Regions from separate parts of the Homo sapiens genome. Here all the other regions are linked to region 1. The links are contacts of gene promoters, found by promoter capture Hi-C in human tissues and cell types (Jung and others, 2019). All regions are on one chromosome and are shown on one strand. Each heading gives the region's core, a stretch centred on a gene start or on the middle of the fragment in contact. The rest is flanking DNA. Distances are from core to core; before and after follow the strand shown.

Region 1 (2,700 bases), core at 194-2,693:
CAAAGTATCTTCTCGGACCACACAGATGAAGTTATAAATTAATAACAGAAGGAAAACTGGAAAAGTCACAAATATCTGAAAGTTAAACAACACTCTTAACAACTGGGTCAAAGAAGAAATCAAGGTCAGGCACGGTGGCTCACACCTGTAATCCCAGCACTTTGGGAGGCCAAGGCGGGTGGATCACCTGAGGTCGGGAGTTCGACACCAGCCTGACCAACACGGAGAAACCACGTCTCCATATCTCTAAATATCAAATTAGCCCGGTGTGGTGGCGCATGCCTGTAATCCCAGCTACTTTAGAGACGGAGGCAGGAGAACCGCTTGAACCCAGGAGGCGGAGGTTGCGGTGAGCCGAGATCACACCATTGCACTCCAGCCTGGGCAACAAGAGCGAAACTCCATCTCAAAAAAAAGAAAAAAAAAGAAGAAGAAATCAAAAGGGAAATTAGAAAATACTTAGAAATGAATGAAAATAACACAACATACAAAAACTTATGAGCTGTAGTGAAAACAGTGATCAAAGTGAAATGTATAGTTGTAAATAACTACATTAAAAAGAGGGAAAGGCTGGGAGCAGTGGCTCACACATGTAATCCCAGCACTTTGGGAGGCTGAGGAGGGTGGATCACTTTAACTCCAGAGTTCAAGACCATCAAGTTTTACACTTACAAATGATTAAAGTAATAAACATTACGCATGTTTTACCTCAATAAAAAGCCCCTCACCACCACCAAAAACGAAAAGAATGGTCAAAAACCAGTAAACTGGATTGGCAAGGAAAAGAACTCTAGAAGGATCCTCAAGTTTTCCGGTCTGGATAGGAGATGAGATGAACTTGAGATCATTAAAAGGTACTTTCACATCAGGACAGCTGGAGATCTCGTCCATGTAGCTGCCTGGGTTGTGAATGGTCAGCATGAAGTAGGTAACGGAAGCCATGGGAGTGCAAGAGTTTGCCCTAGGAAGAACTCCAAGGCAAGAACCCTGAAAAACACATCCAAAAGTGAGGGGAGAGCTTTCTGCTCTTCGGGCTCCCGCGCGACGAGTCTACACCCCTAGGCTAAAAAGACTTACCAAAGTTTAAGTGCAGAGGAGCCCTTCAGGCCCAAGGAGGCAGCGGACCGTCTAGGCCCAGCTACAGAAGAGCCGCTGAGACGGGGGTCCCGAGCAGCGGGTCCCTGCGAGGCGCACAGGGCCTGAGCCACAGACGCTTACGAGCTAAGGCACCTCGGGGTAGTAGGCAGTGAAGCTAGTGCCCAGAGTACGGTGCCCTCCGTCTGCGCCCCGCCCACAACGCAGAAATTCCCTCTCGGGGCCCCTGTTGTCCTCCGAGCCTTCCGATTGGCGGAGAGGACCATGGGACCTGGAAGTTGTCTTTGTCCGGCCAGGGCTGCCCTTCCGGTTCCGTTGGGTCCCCCTTTGGCTCGGGTTCCTTGCCCCTCCCCCTTCCCGGAGCCCCGAGGGGCCGGAGCTCCTGGCGGTGCCGGATCCTGACGGCGGCCTTCCCCCGGGTCTGTAAGTGCGGAGACGGCCGGAGCGGCGGGCTGGGGTGCGGGGTGTCTCAAAATGGAACCCCCCTGGGGCCCTGGATCAACCGGGACCTGCACTGGGATGGGAGCCGAGAGGCTGGCCTAGGCCCCTGGGGACTTGAGGAGCCCTTGGCCCGGCCCACGCTGCGCCCCGCCCCTTTCCCTTCCCTGTGACTGGAGTGGGGAGCCTGAGGATGCCCCTGGGACCGCCTCATAGGACCCCAGCTGAGGGCCCAGCAGTTGGCTTGGGGGCCTGACTCTGGCATCTTATAAGAAGTGCCAGAGGTGAGGCCCTAAGAAAACGAGCCTCGGGAGCCAGCCCAAGACCAGGCATTCAGTGCCAGTCTTTGAGAACCACTGTGAGTGCTAGGTTACCCTTTTGCTGGGGTTTTCCCCTATTTGGCCACTGGTCGCAGCACCTTTTATATTACTGGCGCTATACCAGACACTGGAGATTGGCAAGATATTGTTCCAGTTTTCGGGATTAAGTTTGGGAGCCAGATCTGAACAAATAAGTACTCCTATGTGTATATATATGTATGTATGTATCAGTCACATATGTGTTAATTGCTCAAGGGGCCGTTGCTGAGAAGGCTTTAGAAAGAAAGTGATGTCTGAATTGTACTTGGAGAGAGTAAAGTGTTGAAGAGTTTTTCAGGGAAGACAGTTGCAATACTGTGGAGAAATGACTGAGCATAACTTGTGTGGGAAGAGGAGGAAATGGGGGGACTCCTATGCACAGAATGGATATGAGACTGGGAAAGTCGACCGAGGTCCAGATGGTGAATGGTGTAATCCTAAAGGAGATGGGTAGTTTTTTGAAGAGTTCGGAACAGAATATTGATATGGTCAGATTTGCACTGCAGGAAATCATTTTGTTCTGTAGAAAGCCCATAGAGAAGGGACTTTCTATTAACTGCATTTAGACATTTAGCTAAAAGTTAGGAACGCTTATCGGAGATTCTTTTGAAGGGGTAATGGGATCAGCCTAGTGAGAGGCAAAAAATTCCTGAAATAAGTTATAATGGTGTCATTGGTAAGGAGACAAATATACTGGAGATGATTATGTCAAGACTCCATAATTAACTGAATGCTGAAGAAGTGTGAGGGACCAAATCTAATTCTTAGGTTTTAGACCTCTGAGCTGAAGGATGGTAATGCCATTATC
Region 2 (2,700 bases), core at 18-2,517, 410 kb before region 1:
TCACCAAGTCTTCGCAGAACCCTCGAGTGACTCACCACCGTTATTCCTGTTTTACAGATAAGGAAACCGAAGCACAGAGAGGCAGGTCATCTGGCTGAGGTCACACAGCCACACGGCGAGAGAGCAGTGAAGCTGGAGTTCCAGCAAGCTCCACCTGGCGAGAATTCAAGCCCTGCCATGGGCCACCTCTCTGGAGGAAGAGAAAGCCAGCTTCAGACTCTGCCTCTCTCAATCCTTATACAAGGCCAGAGAGCGCTTGAGGCTTCCAGGCACTCCTATGCTTACACACCTTCCATGGCTCCCAGCTGCCCTCCAGATAAAGAACAATCTCCTCAGTGTGGCCCTTGAGGTCCTGTGATCTGGCCTCTGTCCACCACCAGGGCCCCCCTCCTGGCCAGATCTCTGAGCCTCGGCCAAGCTGACCTGCTTCTCTCAGGGCCTCAACAGGGCCGATCTCCATCCCTGCTGTTCCCTTGGTCCAGCATGCTGTTCCCCTCTAGTTGCTTCTCCTTACCCTGGGGGCCTCCACTCAAATGCCACCTCCTCCACTGGCCGGACGCTGCCATTAACCTGCTCGAGTGCTCTCCCTGCAAAACTCAGCACAGGCTGGGCACAGTGGCTCATGCCTGTAATCCCAGCACTTTGGGAGGCCGAGGTAGGATGACTGTTCGAGCCCAGGAGTTCAAAACCAGCCTGGGCAACAAAGTGAGATCCTGTCTCTATTTTTTAAAAAATTAGCCGGGCGCAGTGGAGCACAACTGTAGTCCCAGCTACTCAGGAGCTTAAGGCTAGGGGGTAGCTTGAGCCCAGGAGTTCGAGGCTGCAGTGAGCTGTGATCACATCACTGCACTCCCACCTGGGTAACAGAGCAAGACCCTGTCTCAAAAAAAAAAAAAAAAAAAAAAGACCCATAGCACAATTGTAATCATGTGGGTCATTGTGGGGTGGTGAGTCACAGCTGGTGAGTGGCAGAATCAAGACCAGGTCCAGGTGGTACAGCCACAGAGCTGGTGCCCCCAAGTACTCGGCTGCTCACACGGGCCCCAAGAGACCTCCTCACTGGCAAGAGGAAGCCACCTCCTCTCAGAAGAATGAGCAGGGCTAGAGTACAGTGGCACAATCACTTCTCACTGCAGTCTCGAACTCTCTGGCTCAAGCAATCCTCCCACCTCAGCCTCCTGAGTAGCTGGGACTACAGTCGTGTGCCACCACACCTAGCTAATTTTTTCTATTTCTTGTAGAGGTGGAGTCTTCCTATATAGCTCAGGCTGGTCTCAAAATCCTGGACTCAAGCAATCCTCCTGCCTCAGCCTTCCAAAGTGCTGGGATTACAGACATGAACCACCGTCCCCTGTAACTACTGTTTAAGAAAGTAAAAAGATGCAGAAGAAGTTAATCTAATATTTTGTTTAACCCACTATACTCCAAATATCATTCCTACATGTAATCAAGATAAAAAAAATTATTAATGGCTGGGTGCCATGGCTCACGCCTGTAATCCCAGCATTTTGAGAGGCCGAGGCAGGCGGATCACCTAGGGTCAGGAGTTCAAGACCAGCCTGACCAACGTGGTGAAACCCTGTCTCTACTAAAAATGCAAAAATTAGCCAGGATTGGTGGCGTGTGCCTGTAGTCCCAGCTACTCAAAAGGCTAAGACAGGAGAATTGCTTGATCTTAGGAGGCAGAGTCTACAGTGAGCCAAGATTGCGCTGCTGCACTCTAGCCTGGGCAACAGAGCAAGACTCTGTCTAAAAAAAAAAATAATAATAAATAAATAATCATTGAGATATCTTACTTTCTTCCATACTAAGTCTTCAAAATCCAGTGTGTATTTCACACTTGTAACACATCTCAGTTTGGAACAGCTGCATTTCAACTGCTCAACAGCCACATGTGGCCAGAGGCTACTGCACTGGGCAGCACAGTGCTAGACTATAAACTCCATGAGGGCAGGGACCAAGCCATACCCACAATTATTAAATCTAGCATCTGACACAGAGTGGACACTCAAGAAATGTTTGTTGACTGACTAGCTGAATGAAAGAATGAATGAACAAATGAATGAAGGAATGAACAAATGATCTAAGGCCTTCTCAGATCTGAAGCCACACTCCCAGCACAGGCCATGGGAAGGGCATGGAGATGAATTCCAGCCCCACCTCTGCACCCACTTCTCTGAGTGACTGTAAGTACCTCCACTTTTGGGGCCTCAGTTTCTCCAGCTGGTCAATGGCTGGGGGGCTGGACTCTTGTGATTTTTCTGGGCTCTCACTAGAGGACTTTACCCAGAAGATGGGAGTTGGGCCCTCGGTGAAGTTCCCTCCTCCATGCCACCCCATCACCCTACTCTCCCTCCACCTGTAAGATAGGAGATCTCAGGAAAGGCCTCCAGGTGGCCTTCTGTACAGAGTGGAGCCACACCCAAGAGGGGAAAGCTGAGGCAAGGCTTGGTACCTTGGCACAGGCAGCAAGGCCAGGGTGGGGGTGCTGAGGCTTGGCCTCCTCCCTCCAGCATCATCACCCCCACACCTCACATTTGTTCAGAGTTGAGAAGAGAGCAGGGCGGGGCTTATCCTTTCAGTTCTGCAGAGAAGGATAAAAGAGACCGAGAGACATGCCAAGACCAGTCTGAGGTCACATGGGGGGCATGACAGAACTGGCTACTGCCCTAGACCTCTGTTTTTCTCATATGAAAAATG
Region 3 (2,700 bases), core at 33-2,532, 450 kb before region 1:
AGAGCTTCCCCAGCCCAGTTCCCCATGGGCTGTTCACAGAACCTGACTGTGGCTGTGCCTAGGCCACCAAACAAACAGCAGAGCAGGGCGGGAGCAAGAGGAGCATGACTGCTGGCCTGTGAGCCCCCTTCCAGTCCTGTCTGTTCCTCACACCTTGTCTGAATGGCTCACAAGCCCAGTAGCCAGTTTTATGAAAGGACCTGTAGTTTGGGGGGCACTAAATGGGTCCCCTGAGTGCAAGTGAGAGCCAAAGCGAGTTGCCCTGGTTCACAGCCCCAGGCCCATCGGCATGCCCAGCTTGCACCCTCGCAGCCTCCCAGACTCCTGCCCTCACGGAGACCCCGGGACACTCTCCTGTCCCGCAGGCCCCTGCGTGCACCCCTCAAGCCCTCAATGTGCTTGGGCTGGAGTCCGCTTGCTCCTCCCCTGAAGGCCTGGGTGGGAGAGTGCAGCCTGCTCTGTCCCCGACAGGCCGCAGCCGTATCGGACACTCAGGGAGTCAGACAGCGCGGAAGGCGACGAGGCAGAGAGTCCAGAGCAGCAAGTGCGGAAGTCCACAGGCCCTGTCCCAGCTCCCCCTGACCGGGCTGCCAGCATCGACCTTCTGGAAGACGTCTTCAGCAACCTGGACATGGAGGCCGCACTGCAGCCACTGGGCCAGGCCAAGAGCTTAGAGGACCTTCGTGCCCCCAAAGACCTGAGGGAGCAGCCAGGGACCTTTGACTATCAGGTATGGCATGGGCAAGGGAGGGTATCGGCCGGGGGCCGGCACTGTCCGCACACGAGGTGGGATCCCCATGTGACAGTGGAAGAGACTAAGGGAGAAACAGTGACTTTCCAAGACCCTCAGCCAATGCTCAGGGTCAGTGTGACTGTAAACACCTCCCAGGGTGCCGGGGCCCACACCACCCTAACAGTGACGGTAGGAGAAGATGCTAGAGCCCGATGGAAACTTGCCCCACTCTGTGTGTGCATCAGACGGGGGGGCGGGTGCTGCCAGCCACTCTCCTCGCACCCCCAGGCAGGGCTGCAGCCCCTGCTGGAACCGGGATTGCGTCCATCCCTGCCAGGGCTCCTTGGCAGAGCCTGTGGATGCAAGTTCTTGGCTCTGCATTATGAATGCAAATCAGTGTGTAATTCCCACTGTGACGTCTAATCCATCACATCCCCGCTCGGTGCCTCAGTTTCCTCACTTGCAAGTGGGGTCTTCTGACTTTGCATCACTGGGTCACACCGTGGGGTTCACAGAGCTCCAGTCATTCATGAGTGTTCCCTGCTGGGAACGAGGACCTGGGCCAGGAGAAAGGGACTGGCACCCGGGCCGTGTGGCTTGCAAGTGGCAGAGCCAGGACTCCAACTTGGCCTCCTCCTTCCTCCCCAGCCAAGGTGCCTCCTACCAGGCCCTGAGTCTCACTCGCGCCCCCGGGCTTACAGGTGATTGCGGGTGCCTGCGATCTAAAAAGTAAAAAGGGCCAGCCGGTAGCTGGAGTCACTTTCCTAAAACTCCTTGGCAACCGCCACTGGCATAAAGGGACGAGAGCTTTGTCTTGAGTTCCCGGAGCACAGGCTTGGAGTCCCAGCACACGTGGGTCCTCTGCTGGTAACCTGGGGGAGCCCTCAGCTGTTCCAAGTCCGAGGAGCTGATCAGCCACACAACTAGGCCCAGCACACATTCAGCACACAGAAGTGGTGTGGGAATGGGCACACATATGTCCCAACTCAGCCCGTGGTCACTGCCGCCCTCCTTCCCTCCCAACAGAGGCTGGATCTGGGCGGGAGTGAGAGGAGCCGCGGGGTGACAGTGGCCTTGAAGCTTACCCACCCGTACAACAAGCTCTGGAGCCTGGGCCAGGACGACATGGCCATCCCCAGCAAGCCCCCAGCTGCCTCCCCTGAGAAGCCCTCAGCCCTGCTCGGAAACTCCCTGGCCCTGCCTCGAAGGCCCCAGAACCGGGACAGCATCCTGAACCCCAGTGACAAGGAGGAGGTGCCCACCCCTACTCTGGGCAGCATCACCATCCCCCGGCCCCAAGGCAGGAAGACCCCAGAGCTGGGCATCGTGCCTCCACCGCCCATTCCCCGCCCGGCCAAGCTCCAGGCTGCCGGCGCCGCACTTGGTGACGTCTCAGAGCGGCTGCAGACGGATCGGGACAGGCGAGCTGCCCTGAGTCCAGGGCTCCTGCCTGGTGTTGTCCCCCAAGGCCCCACTGAACTGCTCCAGCCGCTCAGCCCTGGCCCCGGGGCTGCAGGCACGAGCAGTGACGCCCTGCTCGCCCTCCTGGACCCGCTCAGCACAGCCTGGTCAGGCAGCACCCTCCCGTCACGCCCCGCCACCCCGAATGTAGCCACCCCATTCACCCCCCAATTCAGCTTCCCCCCTGCAGGGACACCCACCCCATTCCCACAGCCACCACTCAACCCCTTTGTCCCATCCATGCCAGCAGCCCCACCCACCCTGCCCCTGGTCTCCACACCAGCCGGGCCTTTCGGGGCCCCTCCAGCTTCCCTGGGGCCGGCTTTTGCGTCCGGCCTCCTGCTGTCCAGTGCTGGCTTCTGTGCCCCTCACAGGTCTCAGCCCAACCTCTCCGCCCTCTCCATGCCCAACCTCTTTGGCCAGATGCCCATGGGCACCCACACGAGCCCCCTACAGCCGCTGGGTCCCCCAGCAGTTGCCCCGTCGAGGATCCGAACGTTGCCCCT
Region 4 (2,700 bases), core at 105-2,604, 350 kb before region 1:
CTGCCAGTTGTTACAACTAAAAATGTCTGGAGATTGCCAAATATGCTGGGGAGAGGAGGTCAAAATCACACCTTGTGGAGAATCACTGTTTTAAAGGAATCAACTTCTTGCTGACCCTTGAAAATTTGGCCTCCAATCTAAGATATCTGCCTCTGTTAAACTCTGTCACTTTAGGCAATCACTTTGCACAAACATCATCACTAAATTTTGGGGTGCCAGAGATTGTTTACAAGATGGTTGTCTTAGTGATTCCTACTCATATTATTATTATTTGTAGATTATAATTGAAACCAAGACATCCATTTAGAAACTTATCTTAGCACTTGTGGACCCCTGAAAATATGTCCACCAAGAAATCCACAGACACCTCAGAACTTTGCCTGGTCTGTGAAATACTGGGGCTGGATGATTTCTTAGGGCTTTCCTGCTGCCTTAAGCCCGTCTTGTTCTAGAAGTCTAGGACCTTGCTGTTCAAACTGGAATGGGCAGCACAGTAATTGAGAACACTGAGCTGAATCCCACGTCTTCCACTTATTGGCTCAGTGATATAGTGCAAATTACTTACCTTCTTGGAGCCTTAGTCTCCTCATCTATAAATTAAGATAAAAATTGTACCTACTTCATAGGACTGTTGCAAGGTTTAAAGACATAATGCATGTTAAGTGCTTAATATATTGCCTGGCACATAATAAGTGCTTAATAAATGTTGGCTGTTAGTATAATTACCACCAGAGCTAGGCGGTGGTATGCCAGGAATTACTCAGAGCCACAGCATGAACAAGAAATGTCTTCCTGGAGTGTGAATTTCTACTTAAAGAGTTGGGAAAACAGGCTTTGAATTTTTCTCCTAAAGGGTGGTAATTAAAAACATTATTTTAATGTTAAAACAAACATGGGAATAAAACATAAAATTTGCATGAATTTTAAAGATAAAATGTGAGACTTCAAAGAATTTTTTTTTTTTTTTTTTTTTTTTTTTTTTTTGAGACAAAGACTCGCTCTGTCACCCAGGCTGGAGTGCAGTGGCGCAAGCTTGGCTCACTGCAACCTCTGCCTCCCGGGTTCAAGCAATTCTCCCTGCTTCAGCCTCCCACGTAGCTGGGATTACAGGTGCCCGCCACCATGCCCAGCTAATTTTTGTATTTTTAGTAGAGATGGTGTTTCGCTATGTTGGCCAGGTCTGGTCTTGAACTCCTGGACTAAAGTGATCTGCTTGCCTCAGCCTCCCAAAGTGCTGGGATTACAGGCATGAGCCACCCCGCCCGGCCAGACTTCAGAGAAATTTTATGCTTGAGGTTGGTGAATCTGGGCCTCTTTTCCAGACCTCCAGTGGGGCTGACTCAATCTTCCCAGCCAGGCGCAAGTACTTTGGTGGGAAAGTTTAAGCAGTAGTTCTGGGCTTTTTTGCATCTTGGGCCAATAGAATTATCAAGGGTATTAGCAGAGATTCTGTAGGAAGCAGGGGCTTCTGACCAAGAGTCTATGCTCTCTTCTTGCAGGTTTCTCCCCTTCCAAATTGTTTTGGGGTTTGTTACTCAAGGTAGGGGAATGGGAAATTTTGCTAGGTATTCATTCAACAAATATTTAATAGTTGACTACTGTATGCCCAGCACTATTCTAAGGGATACAAAAAGAACAAATCAAAAAAAAATTCTACACACATAAGTCCTATACTATCAGTAGCTATAATAGTCTCAATAAGGGAATTGAAAATGGGGAACAGTAGGAGAGATGGTTTTGGAGTTTAGGAGAAAGATTAGGTAATTATGGACAGTTGAGTAGCATGTGACATCCAAGTAGATCCTGAGTTGGCTGTTGAATGAGATTCTAGAGCCATGGTTTTCATTGGGAGCTTTTAGACATTTGTGGTGGAGTTGGGTAATCATAATGGTATTGATTGAGGGGGAGAAGTCTGAGATGCTAGATGTCATATAATGCATGGATAGCATTGCATGATTTTTTTTTTTTTTTTTGAGATGGAGTCTCGCTCTGTCACCCAGGCTGGAGCGCAGTGGCGTGATCTCGGCTCACTGCAAACTCCACCTATCGGGTTCAAGTGATTCTCCTGCCTCAGCCTCCCAAGTAGCTGGGATTACAGGCGCCCACCACCACGCCTGGCTAACTTTTGTATTTTTAGTAGAGACAAGGTTTCACCATGTTGGCCAGGCTGGTCTCAAACTCGTGACCTCAAGTGATCCACCCGCCTTTGCCTCCCAAAGTACTGGGATTACAGGCGTGAGCCACCATGCCTGGCCTCATGTCATATGACTTTTGAATGTCCCACTGGACACTTACATGGGTGAAAGTCCCATATATAATTATGTGAGCTTAACAACTAATTTCCATTTTTAATATAAACACAAAGTACATTCTAGCATGATTTTAATACTCCAGGGAGGCAAATACTATGCAAAGTGAATGAAGATTATATCTTGTTTTGCTTAGACCCTACCAAGAGTTATTCACCATTTCAGACATCATATCAGCAACAGCAATTCTGCTATGGCATTTGAGGCTCTGATTGGCATCTGTACCTGCTGAAATTGGGTCTGTGCTTCTCGAATGGTAAGGTGCAGGTGAATCACCTGGAGATCTTGTTTCTTTCTTTTTTCTTTTTAAACAATGGAAGAGACTGCTTGGATAATAATGGAAATAATCCAGTAGAGAGGGAGAGGCTGGCCATACCAGAGAGGAACAAAC

What was found. The method cuts DNA at HindIII sites, captures the fragments that hold promoters and counts their contacts. A contact is called where the count stands out against the background at its distance.
Region 2: a contact is called between a fragment that was not itself captured here and the fragment with the promoter of ZBTB26 in region 1, in 1 of the 25 tissues and cell types used here (mesenchymal stem cells).
Region 3: a fragment that was not itself captured here is called in contact with the fragment with the promoter of ZBTB26 in region 1 in 1 of the 25 tissues and cell types used here (dorsolateral prefrontal cortex).
Region 4: a contact is called between a fragment that was not itself captured here and the fragment with the promoter of ZBTB26 in region 1, in 2 of the 25 tissues and cell types used here (dorsolateral prefrontal cortex and thymus).

What each region holds. Positions count from the first base shown.
Region 1 is chr9:122,930,255-122,932,954 of GRCh38, reverse strand. ZBTB26 (zinc finger and BTB domain containing 26) reads left to right here and starts at 1,443. Exons shown (of 2, transcript NM_020924.4): 1 at 1,443-1,518. It also overlaps a transcript of RABGAP1 not described here. RefSeq lists a silencer at 1,332-1,671. The HindIII fragment of the contact is 7,569 bases long and covers 1-2,700 here.
Region 2 is chr9:123,336,489-123,339,188 of GRCh38, reverse strand. It overlaps LOC124902266 (a long non-coding RNA gene), which reads left to right. Exons shown (of 2, transcript XR_007061760.1): 2 at 58-1,788. Among named protein-coding and RNA genes, the nearest start is that of CRB2, 18 kb to the left of the region's middle. RefSeq lists enhancers at 1-104, 965-1,124. The HindIII fragment of the contact is 9,022 bases long and covers 1-2,700 here.
Region 3 is chr9:123,381,685-123,384,384 of GRCh38, reverse strand. It overlaps DENND1A (DENN domain containing 1A), which reads left to right. Exons shown (of 24, transcript NM_001352964.2): 23 at 472-730; 24 at 1,760-2,700. Among named protein-coding and RNA genes, the nearest start is that of MIR601, 20 kb to the left of the region's middle. The HindIII fragment of the contact is 4,004 bases long and covers 1-2,700 here.
Region 4 is chr9:123,275,807-123,278,506 of GRCh38, reverse strand. No RefSeq gene overlaps it. Among named protein-coding and RNA genes, the nearest start is that of STRBP, 8.6 kb to the right of the region's middle. The HindIII fragment of the contact is 6,973 bases long and covers 1-2,700 here.